2 separate regions of the Homo sapiens genome follow, and region 2 is linked to region 1. The links are contacts of gene promoters, found by promoter capture Hi-C in human tissues and cell types (Jung and others, 2019). All regions are on one chromosome and are shown on one strand. Each heading gives the region's core, a stretch centred on a gene start or on the middle of the fragment in contact. The rest is flanking DNA. Distances are from core to core; before and after follow the strand shown.

Region 1 (4,207 bases), core at 1,677-4,176:
AGCAAAAAACAAAAAACCAGATAAACAGAGAAAAATTGAACTGCCATTAGAGAAGACGGGGAGATGTGGGAACCCAGAGCCTTGTCTTTAACTTCCTACTGATTCTCTATCCTCACAGATTTCTGACACACTACCAGAGGATTCAGGGCTCCATGAAACATAATTTGAAAATAACTAGCCTACCTTGGCAGTTCTCAAAGTTTGTAGTATCAAGACCCCTTGGCATGTTTAAAAATTGAAGACTCAAAGAAGTTTTTTTCATGTGGATTGTAACTATTGGTATTTACCATATTAGAAATGAAAACTGATAAATTATATATAAAAGATTAATTCCTTAAAATTGACAATAAGCCCATTACATGTTAACATAAATATCATATTTTAATGAAAAATTACTATATTTTAAAAACAAAAGATAAGATTGGCATTGTTTTACATTTTTGTAAATCTCTAATATCTGACTTAAAAAACAGCTTAATTCTATTTGCTTTGATAGCACATTATAGTCTCCACAAAACTTCATTGTACACTTCTGAGAGAACAAGAGTGAAAAAAGCAAGTAACACATGAAAACTTTTTGACCTCATGGATCCCAGAAAGAACCTCGGAGATTGTCTACAGTCCCCAGCTCACATTTGGAGAACCTCTGTCCTAAATCCAAAGGTCCATTCTAGCTGGCACTGAAAATTGACTTAATTTCTGAAATCCTATTAACCGTTTTGAAGAGTCTGATTCTACCAAAATACTAAAAAAGAATGTGAGGTGAATACTAAATAGAAAAATGTTGAATTCAAAATGAAGGGACTAAGATAAGTGGTTTTTATTACAAAGCAAACTGTATTAGATAACTTAAATCTATGTATGTTCAAAAAGATGTACTTGTCATATCTAGTGCAATTACTTGTTTACATATCTCTTCTACCCAACCTGTGAGCTTTGCAAGAAGGAAATGAGTCTTTTTTGTTTGGTTATTTTTCTGAGACAGTGTCTCGTTCTGTTCCCCAGGCTGCAGGGCAGTGGTGTGATCTCGGCTCACTGCAACAGGGAGCCTCCTGAGCAGCTGGGATTACAGGTGCCCACCGCCTCACCCGGCTAACTTTTTGTATTTTTAGTGGAGCCGGGGTTTCACCATGTTGGCCAGGCTGGTCTGGAACTCCTGACCTCAGGTGATCCGCCCGCTATGGCCTCCCAAAGTGCTGGGATTACAGGCGTAAACCACCGTGCCTGGCCAAAGGAATTGAGTCTTAATCCCTTTTGCATCTTCAGTCTTTAGGATAACGTCTGACACACAACAGGCATTAAATATTTGTTGGATGAATGAACTGAACTGCATAGAATGCAGAAAGCCTACATATACTGGCCAGGCACAGTGGCTCACACCTGTAATCCCAGCACTTTGGGAGGCCGAGACGGGCGGATCACCTGAGGTCAGGAGTTTGAGACCAGCCTGGTCAACATAGCAAAACCCGGTCTCTATTAAAAATATAAAAATTAGCCGGGCATGGTTGTGGGCGCCTGTAATCCCAGCTACTCGGGAGGCTGAGGCAGGAGAATCGTTTGAATCTGGAAGGAGGAGGTTGAGGTGAGCCGAGATCGCACCACTGCACTCCAGCCTCGGCGACAAGAGGGAGACTCCGTCTCAAAACAACCAACCAACAAGCCTACATATCCTGCCACACGTGCTACAATCCACAGCAAACTGTTTCATCCACATTCAACCACTTTCTTAAAGTCACCATCATGATCCTATCAAGAAAACCGTAATTTATATGGTATTTTAATGTGCCTTTATAAATTACTAATCACTTTCTTCATGATGTATGTTAAAATGGCTTATGTCACCTGATGTAATCCTTAATGAGGGAAATAAAAGGCCATGATTATGCCTGGCTTTTTTTCTTATATGTTAGATTTGAGTGTTAAAATGACCTCGAAGCGGCGAAAGAAAGGAACGGAACTGCCCTCCACATTAAAAATGAGCAGGCTCCATAGGTTAATTTTACTCTTCCTCACGCACGGCACTTACATGTTGCAAACTCTCTGCTCCACAGCACGCACAGACATCCCAAATCCCGGATTGGGCCTGAGGAACATCTCTGCAAAGAGCGCCAGGAGGGCGTGGGGGTCCCGCCTCTCTCGCCAGGGACCAGGGAGTGGACACTCACTGGTCCAGTCATGAGGAACTCAGCATCCTCCTGACGGGAGGCGCCTCTTTCCCAGAAGCGGTGGGTCAGGAGGAATCTGACTAAACCCTGGGTTGCCGGCCCGGAGGGCGCGGTTGACCCCGGGGCCTCGAGGTTGTGGGCGAGGAGTAATCCGCCCGCCGAGACCGACCCGCAGATCCAGGAGACCGAAACCCGAGGGCGGCGCTCCAGGGTGCTGAGGAGACCGGAAAGGCGGCCAGGACCTTCCGGTCGCCTCGGCCCACCACCCACCCAGTGTCCGCGCAGCCCTAAAGCCTGGCAGACGCGGAGCGCACGCGGCCTTTGCCTCGGCCAGGACAGGGCAGCGGGGAGAGGGCTGCTAGACAACAATTCTTGACCCCTCCTCGACCCACGACCGCCAGGTAGGCGCGCAAAGCTCCTACACCTGCGGCGCGCCCCCGTCCCCTGGTCCAGCGGACACGCCACGCACGCAGCCCCGCCCAGCGCCGCTCGCGGTAGGGGCGGAGCCGCTGAGCTGGCCAAAGCGGATTTGCCCAGCTAGGCCAGGGGCGGGGCAGGCCCTCCCAGCCAGGACCAGCCCCAGTCTCCCCGCCCCTGAGCCGTGAAGGAAATAGGGACCTGGCCCTGGGCCTTGTGTAGCGGGAGGGGGAGCTAGGAAGCAGCTGAGGGCAGAATCCAGGAGGGCCTGGCTGCGGGGGAATGAAGCCTCCGCCTTCGCAGGCAAAAGCCTTTAAATACGGGCTCAGGCCCGGGACTCAGAGTGTAACGCGTGGCAGCCTGAGGGAGGGGCGTGCGCCGAGAGGGAGCTCAGATCGAGCGGGGCGCGGGTGGAGAAGCTGCGGCGGCGCGGCCCGTAGGAAGGTGCTGTCCGAACGATCGGGATAGGAGCGGTCCCTGCGCTTGCTGCTGGGAAGTGGGTAAGCGCCGCTCCCAGGCTGGCCCCGCCGCCCGGGCGGGATGCTCCCAGGTCTGGGCGGGATGTGGAGGGAGCGGGGCTGGGGTGTGCGCGCTGCTCCCGGTCGCTCGCTGCGCTGGGTCCCGGGCTTCCCGTCTCACGACCTTCGTCTCTTTGGGGCTTAGGGCGGGAACCGCATTTTGGAACTGCTGTCCTGGGGATGTGGTCGTCTGGGCTTCTTATTCAAGACTCGTGAGTCTTCCAGCCCCTTCTCTTTCTGCCTTTACCCACTTTCCTGACTTGGATGAGATTTCCCTGCCGCCTCCAAAGCCGAACGCCCACCACAGGAAGCGGTTCTCTCGTTGGGGACCTCATTTTGGCCGCAGAGTCGTAGTCTTTTGTTTGTGTTTAAGAGTCTGCTCACCTGAGGGGCTCCTGCTTTTCTCATGCCGCCCCTCTTAAGAAACCAAAGAGAAACGAAGCCAGAAAGCCCTCTTGAGAGCAAAATACTAAGACTGCCGTGATATCTGTCCGGGATGTCCTGGAATCCATTGTTGGCCCCCTACACCACAGAATTGCTCTGTTTGATGTCGGGGAAGGCCTTTCCTGGGTGCCTCGGGAGACCATGTTTGTGTGAGATCTTGAAAAATTATACGTCCTATAAATATATAGGAAGATAACTTAGTAGGGTTAGGAATTCTAGTATAGAGAAAAGAGGGGTTCGCTGGTAGGGATCTATTCATGGGCATACAGAGCAGTAGCTGTCTATCGACAGACCTCAAAGACACAGTGAGCCTTTGAGTTTCTTCAAATCCCTTAAGAAATGGAGAACAGTAGTCTTTCTTCAGGGGGGTTCTGGAAATGAAAGAGCTGACTGTCTGCTCTGAGATGTGCTTATTAGTGGCCAGGATCCAGTTTAAGGTAAGGGGTAGACAACCCTGATTGAAAAGATCTCATTTCTTCTCCCGTTGCTGTACTCCTTTTTCTAACAAAATCTATAACTGGATAAGCATAATCCATCTTCCTTCTTGTTTACTTCCACAGCTTTACATGATAACCCTTAGACATAAAATTAATACCGGCTTTCTTACTGATTAAATATTTTTCTCTGGTCAGGCATCTTTTACTGTTTAATTTCTGGAAATGA
Region 2 (4,264 bases), core at 860-3,359, 1.3 Mb after region 1:
TTTAACGCCCATTAATGTGAATTTAAGAGAGTGGGAGTTTACAGAATCCACTGTCAGGACCTGACCTGCAGATAGGATGAAGATACATTGGTTCTGACCATCATGCTTTGCTGACCTCACCACACTATTGTGGGGAAAATCCCTACCATAGCAAGCATTGGGTAAATTATTATCTACTCTTGCACAAAATAAATCAATCAGCTCTACAATCTATTGCTCCAGAAGAGTTCATCTTTTGCCCTAGGTGAGTGTTTGTTATTTGGATATAATTTAAAACACACTGCTTTCAAAAATACTTAATTTGTTTTTATTTTTATGATGCATAAAATTGTGTATCCTGTTTAAAGCAGGGTTTTATGGTGCCAAATAAGTAAACTCCTATTGATGAGAACTTCAAAAACCAAAAGAACACCTGGTCCTGGTAGGGATTAAAACAAACAGAAAAGAGTATTAAATTCTAGGCAAGCAGTACCTTCCTTGTATCACCCAGAAGATAGAGAAACTCAGAAAGAAAACAAAATGCAACAGTGAGAAAGAGATTCACAAAGGTACTTGCTCCCCACAAATTCTGCACCTTCCTCCATGCTTCCTGTTCCCTCTACCAAACCTCCAAGAAGTGAAGGAAAACAGATGAGTTGCTCAATCCATTCGTCTACCTGACTGGGGAATCTAAATGGTAAGTTCTCATGATGTTCCAACCTTCTGAAATACTAGAAGGTTCTATTATCATTATTATTTTCTGCACAATTAAAAGGCACAGCAGAACAAGCATGGCTGGCCATGTGTTAGGCATTCTCTTATCTCTTGAATAGGGAGGGCCTCCTATCAGAAGAATTAAAATCTACCCACGTTTGGATCACTGAAGCCAGGACTTAGATCCAGAAAGGGCAAGAGTACCATGATGGTGCAGAGGGTACGACAATCCTGGTTCAATCCATGCTGCGACTTATGAATTCCCAACTCTGAAGGTGAACTGCAAGTTATTGAGATTTTCTATCTGCCAGGCCCTGTGCCAAGATTTTTACATGCATCATCTCTTGCAGTCCTCACCACTGTCCACTAAGATTTGTATCATTAGTCTCCCCTTTTACAAAAAAGAAACTGAGGCTTGGCCAGGTTTAGTTTACTTGCCCAAGGCAAGTAAATTTAATTTACTTTTAAAAGTAAATTAATTCACAGGACTTGTAAGCTCATGTCTTTTCCACCATGCCACAGGGGCCCCTGAATCAGACCAGCAGTTGTAGCTTTATGAGACTAGGGGGCCAAGTCCACATTTCTGTTCTTCTGCTCCAGCTGGATGGGCTTACCAATTGCCTGGAAGAGGCCAGGTTGGGGAGGAGAATGCCAGCTCTGTCACAGTGAAGCAGTGGGCAGCTGTCTCAGAGCTAGGGAACGAGGGAGAGATGCTGAGGGTCATTCCCATGGCGGTTGGTACGTTAGGTTCTCCCAACCTGTGCTTGTGTATTTTAAAAAATGTTTCCATTAATTTCCTCTTGTTTATTTTGGCCAATTTTAAAGGGTATAAAATTTGGAATCAGAAAAATAAGTGTTTAAACCTGGGTTCTGCAGTACAACGTTGCGTGATTCTGGGAATTGACTTAAGCCCTGAATCCAATCTGAAATGAGGCTCATTGGTCACCCTAACTACACAGAGTTGTTTAGAGACTTAGATAACATCATTCTCTAGAGAAAGGCTTTGTAAGGTGTTATAGATATTATTATTATTTTAATCTTGACCTTCTCATTTTTATACTAGCTACTCCTCCTTTGTTTATGCCTGCCATCAGTTTTATAAAGCAGCCTCTTGTGTCTTCATCCAAGTTGTTCAAAGAGAGATGGGGTGGCTATAGAGAGAGCGAGAGTGAGAACCCCGGACAGGACCTGGCTGAGGACAAAGGTCTATTGTTCAACACCAGCTGCCTCCCTCTGGCTGTCATTAATCAGCACATCTGATTAATGACAGCATAATTTTTTAACCAGCCAGCACTAATCTATTTGTCCTAAATCAGCCAATGTTTCTCAGTCTTCTTCGAAAAGAGATCATGAAAGGGTCTGTCAAATCCCTTGATGAAATCTGAAATTCTAACCTCATGACCGCCCCTTGATCTGGCAGTCCAATTTTCTAACAACGGAAATCAGGTTTGCGGAGCCATGTTCGCCCTCACTGAGCTCATGCTACCCTCCAGATTACCGTTAGCACTGCCCATGAGTCACTTGTTCTAAATGTGTTCTAGAATGTTCCTGGGGGAGTATCCCTCCTCAGGGTGAGAGGACACAGGAGTCCTGATGGCGTGCCAGCTTGGTGAGGAGAGCAGGGAGTCAGGTGCCAGGCTTTGTCTGAGAATCATATACAGGACAGTATGGGTGAGCAGCAGAAATCTACAGACATTCATTTAGGGAGACCCCAAGCTATCAGTGAGGGGACTCAAATCAAAGGCCCAGGGTATAGGCAAGTTGAGAATTAAGGCAGTAGGATTAAGCTATAGGCAAGTTGAGAATTAAGGCATTAAAGAATAGCACCACCACAAGGATATGGAACCAAGACTGGGAGTAGATGGAGTAGCTGAATATATCCATCCAAGCTGAGGGATTAACATGAAGTTCAGATGAATTCCACTAGTCTACTACAGTTCTAGTGTCCAGCCTGATTCATTAGCCCAGCCACAGAGATGGTGGCTTTTTCTCTAGAGTTTGGTTTTTGTTTTGTTTTGTTTTGTTTTTTGTTTTTTTGTTTTTCTTGATAAAGCAACCATCCTTGACACACAAAACTCAAGCTTATCTCATTTCAGAAGTTCACTTTCTCCCACCCCTTGAAAAATGCATCCATTTGCGTGTATCTGGTCTTCCGATGCCTTCCCTATCACCTACAGCTTTTGAAAAATTACTGGCAGCTTTTCTTTCATCACAGCCAGTTCTTTCAGCAGAGTTGAGTCAGGGTTAAGAACATGAGCGTTCCTGCCAGGCAGACCTGGGCACATGCCCCTGATAGTCCATTTATTTCAGTGGGACCTTGAGTCATGAACTGCTTTGAGCCTAAACTCTCTCATTGAATAATAGGAATAATAATAATCTACTTCATAGGATTGCTGTGAGGCTTCAATGAGATGGTGCATGTACAGCATAAGGCCTAGTCCCTGAATACCATGCATGCTCCACATATATTCCTATGGTCAAGTGCATCATTATTCCCAATTGTTCACTGCTGCCAGGATCAACACCCTTTGCCATGGGACTTTGCAGTTCTCATGGGACCTTGCTAGAGATGGAGTGTACAGCCCATCCCACTGGTTTTGGGCTTGAGTGGCTTGTGACTTGATTCAGCCAATGAAATGTGGGCAGAAGAAACAATGTGCCCATAATACACACAGGCCTTATGTATTGTGTATTTCCATTCATCTCATATGTGCTTCTGGCATTGCCAAGAGAAGAACATGCCCCGGAACGCCCACTGGTACCAGAATAATAAAAGACTCCTAGAGCAGACCTCGACCCAATCCACAGCCTAGAGCCATGCCCGGCAGAGCTCAGCCAAGATCAGCCAAACCCCAGTCAGCCCACAAACATATGAACAAGAAATAAGTGTTTATTGCTGCACACCACAGATTTTTGGAAGGGTTTTAAGTGGCATCCTTGTGATAAGAATTTATACTTACCTTGTCCACTGCTTAGAGATTTAAGTTTATTTAAAGCTTAATGGGCTCATTTCCCTTTTACTCCAGTTTCCACCAAGCTTCAATTTAAGGGTAAGAGCATGGGTTTTGGAACCCATGGGCTTGGGAGCAAAGGCTCCCAAGAAAAATGAGCTGCTCTTTCCTTTTCTTGATAAGCTTATTATCCTTTGTGCAATTTGGAGAGCCTCATCTCCAGATCTTTACAGAACAGACAGAGTGAATAGAGTTCATAGGGGTTGAGGCATTTGGCTTTGTCTCAGACTTTTCTGTTCATTCATTCACATTTATGTGGCACCTGGCACACACCAGGCACTGTTCTAGGTCCCAAGAATCTGGTGGTTAATAAGGCAAGTGAAGTCACCCCTCTCATGGAGCTTACATTCTAGAAGAGTTCAAAGTAGGTAATGAATAAGGCAATAGTAAACTAGATAATTCCACATAGCAATGAACATTGTGAAATACATTCAAAAGGGTGATATGGCTAGAGAATGACAGAGTATAGAGTGCAGGACAGGCTGATGATCAGGGAAGGTCTCATGGAAGCAATGACACCTCCCATTTTCCAAATGAGAGAAATGTTCCTCTTTAATCCT

The links. The method cuts DNA at HindIII sites, captures the fragments that hold promoters and counts their contacts. A contact is called where the count stands out against the background at its distance.
Region 2: a contact is called between a fragment that was not itself captured here and the fragment with the promoter of UGDH in region 1, in 1 of the 25 tissues and cell types used here (heart right ventricle).

The regions. Positions count from the first base shown.
Region 1 is chr4:39,526,158-39,530,364 of GRCh38, reverse strand. It overlaps UGDH (UDP-glucose 6-dehydrogenase), which reads left to right and starts at 2,926. Exons shown (of 12, transcript NM_003359.4): 1 at 2,926-3,082. UGDH-AS1 (UGDH antisense RNA 1) reads right to left here and starts at 2,526. Exons shown (of 5, transcript NR_047679.1): 1 at 2,027-2,526. RefSeq lists an enhancer at 2,042-2,101 and silencers at 2,482-2,781, 3,032-3,211. The HindIII fragment of the contact is 14,033 bases long and covers 1-4,207 here.
Region 2 is chr4:38,202,505-38,206,768 of GRCh38, reverse strand. No RefSeq gene overlaps it. Among named protein-coding and RNA genes, the nearest start is that of LINC02513, 160 kb to the left of the region's middle. The HindIII fragment of the contact is 3,341 bases long and covers 439-3,779 here.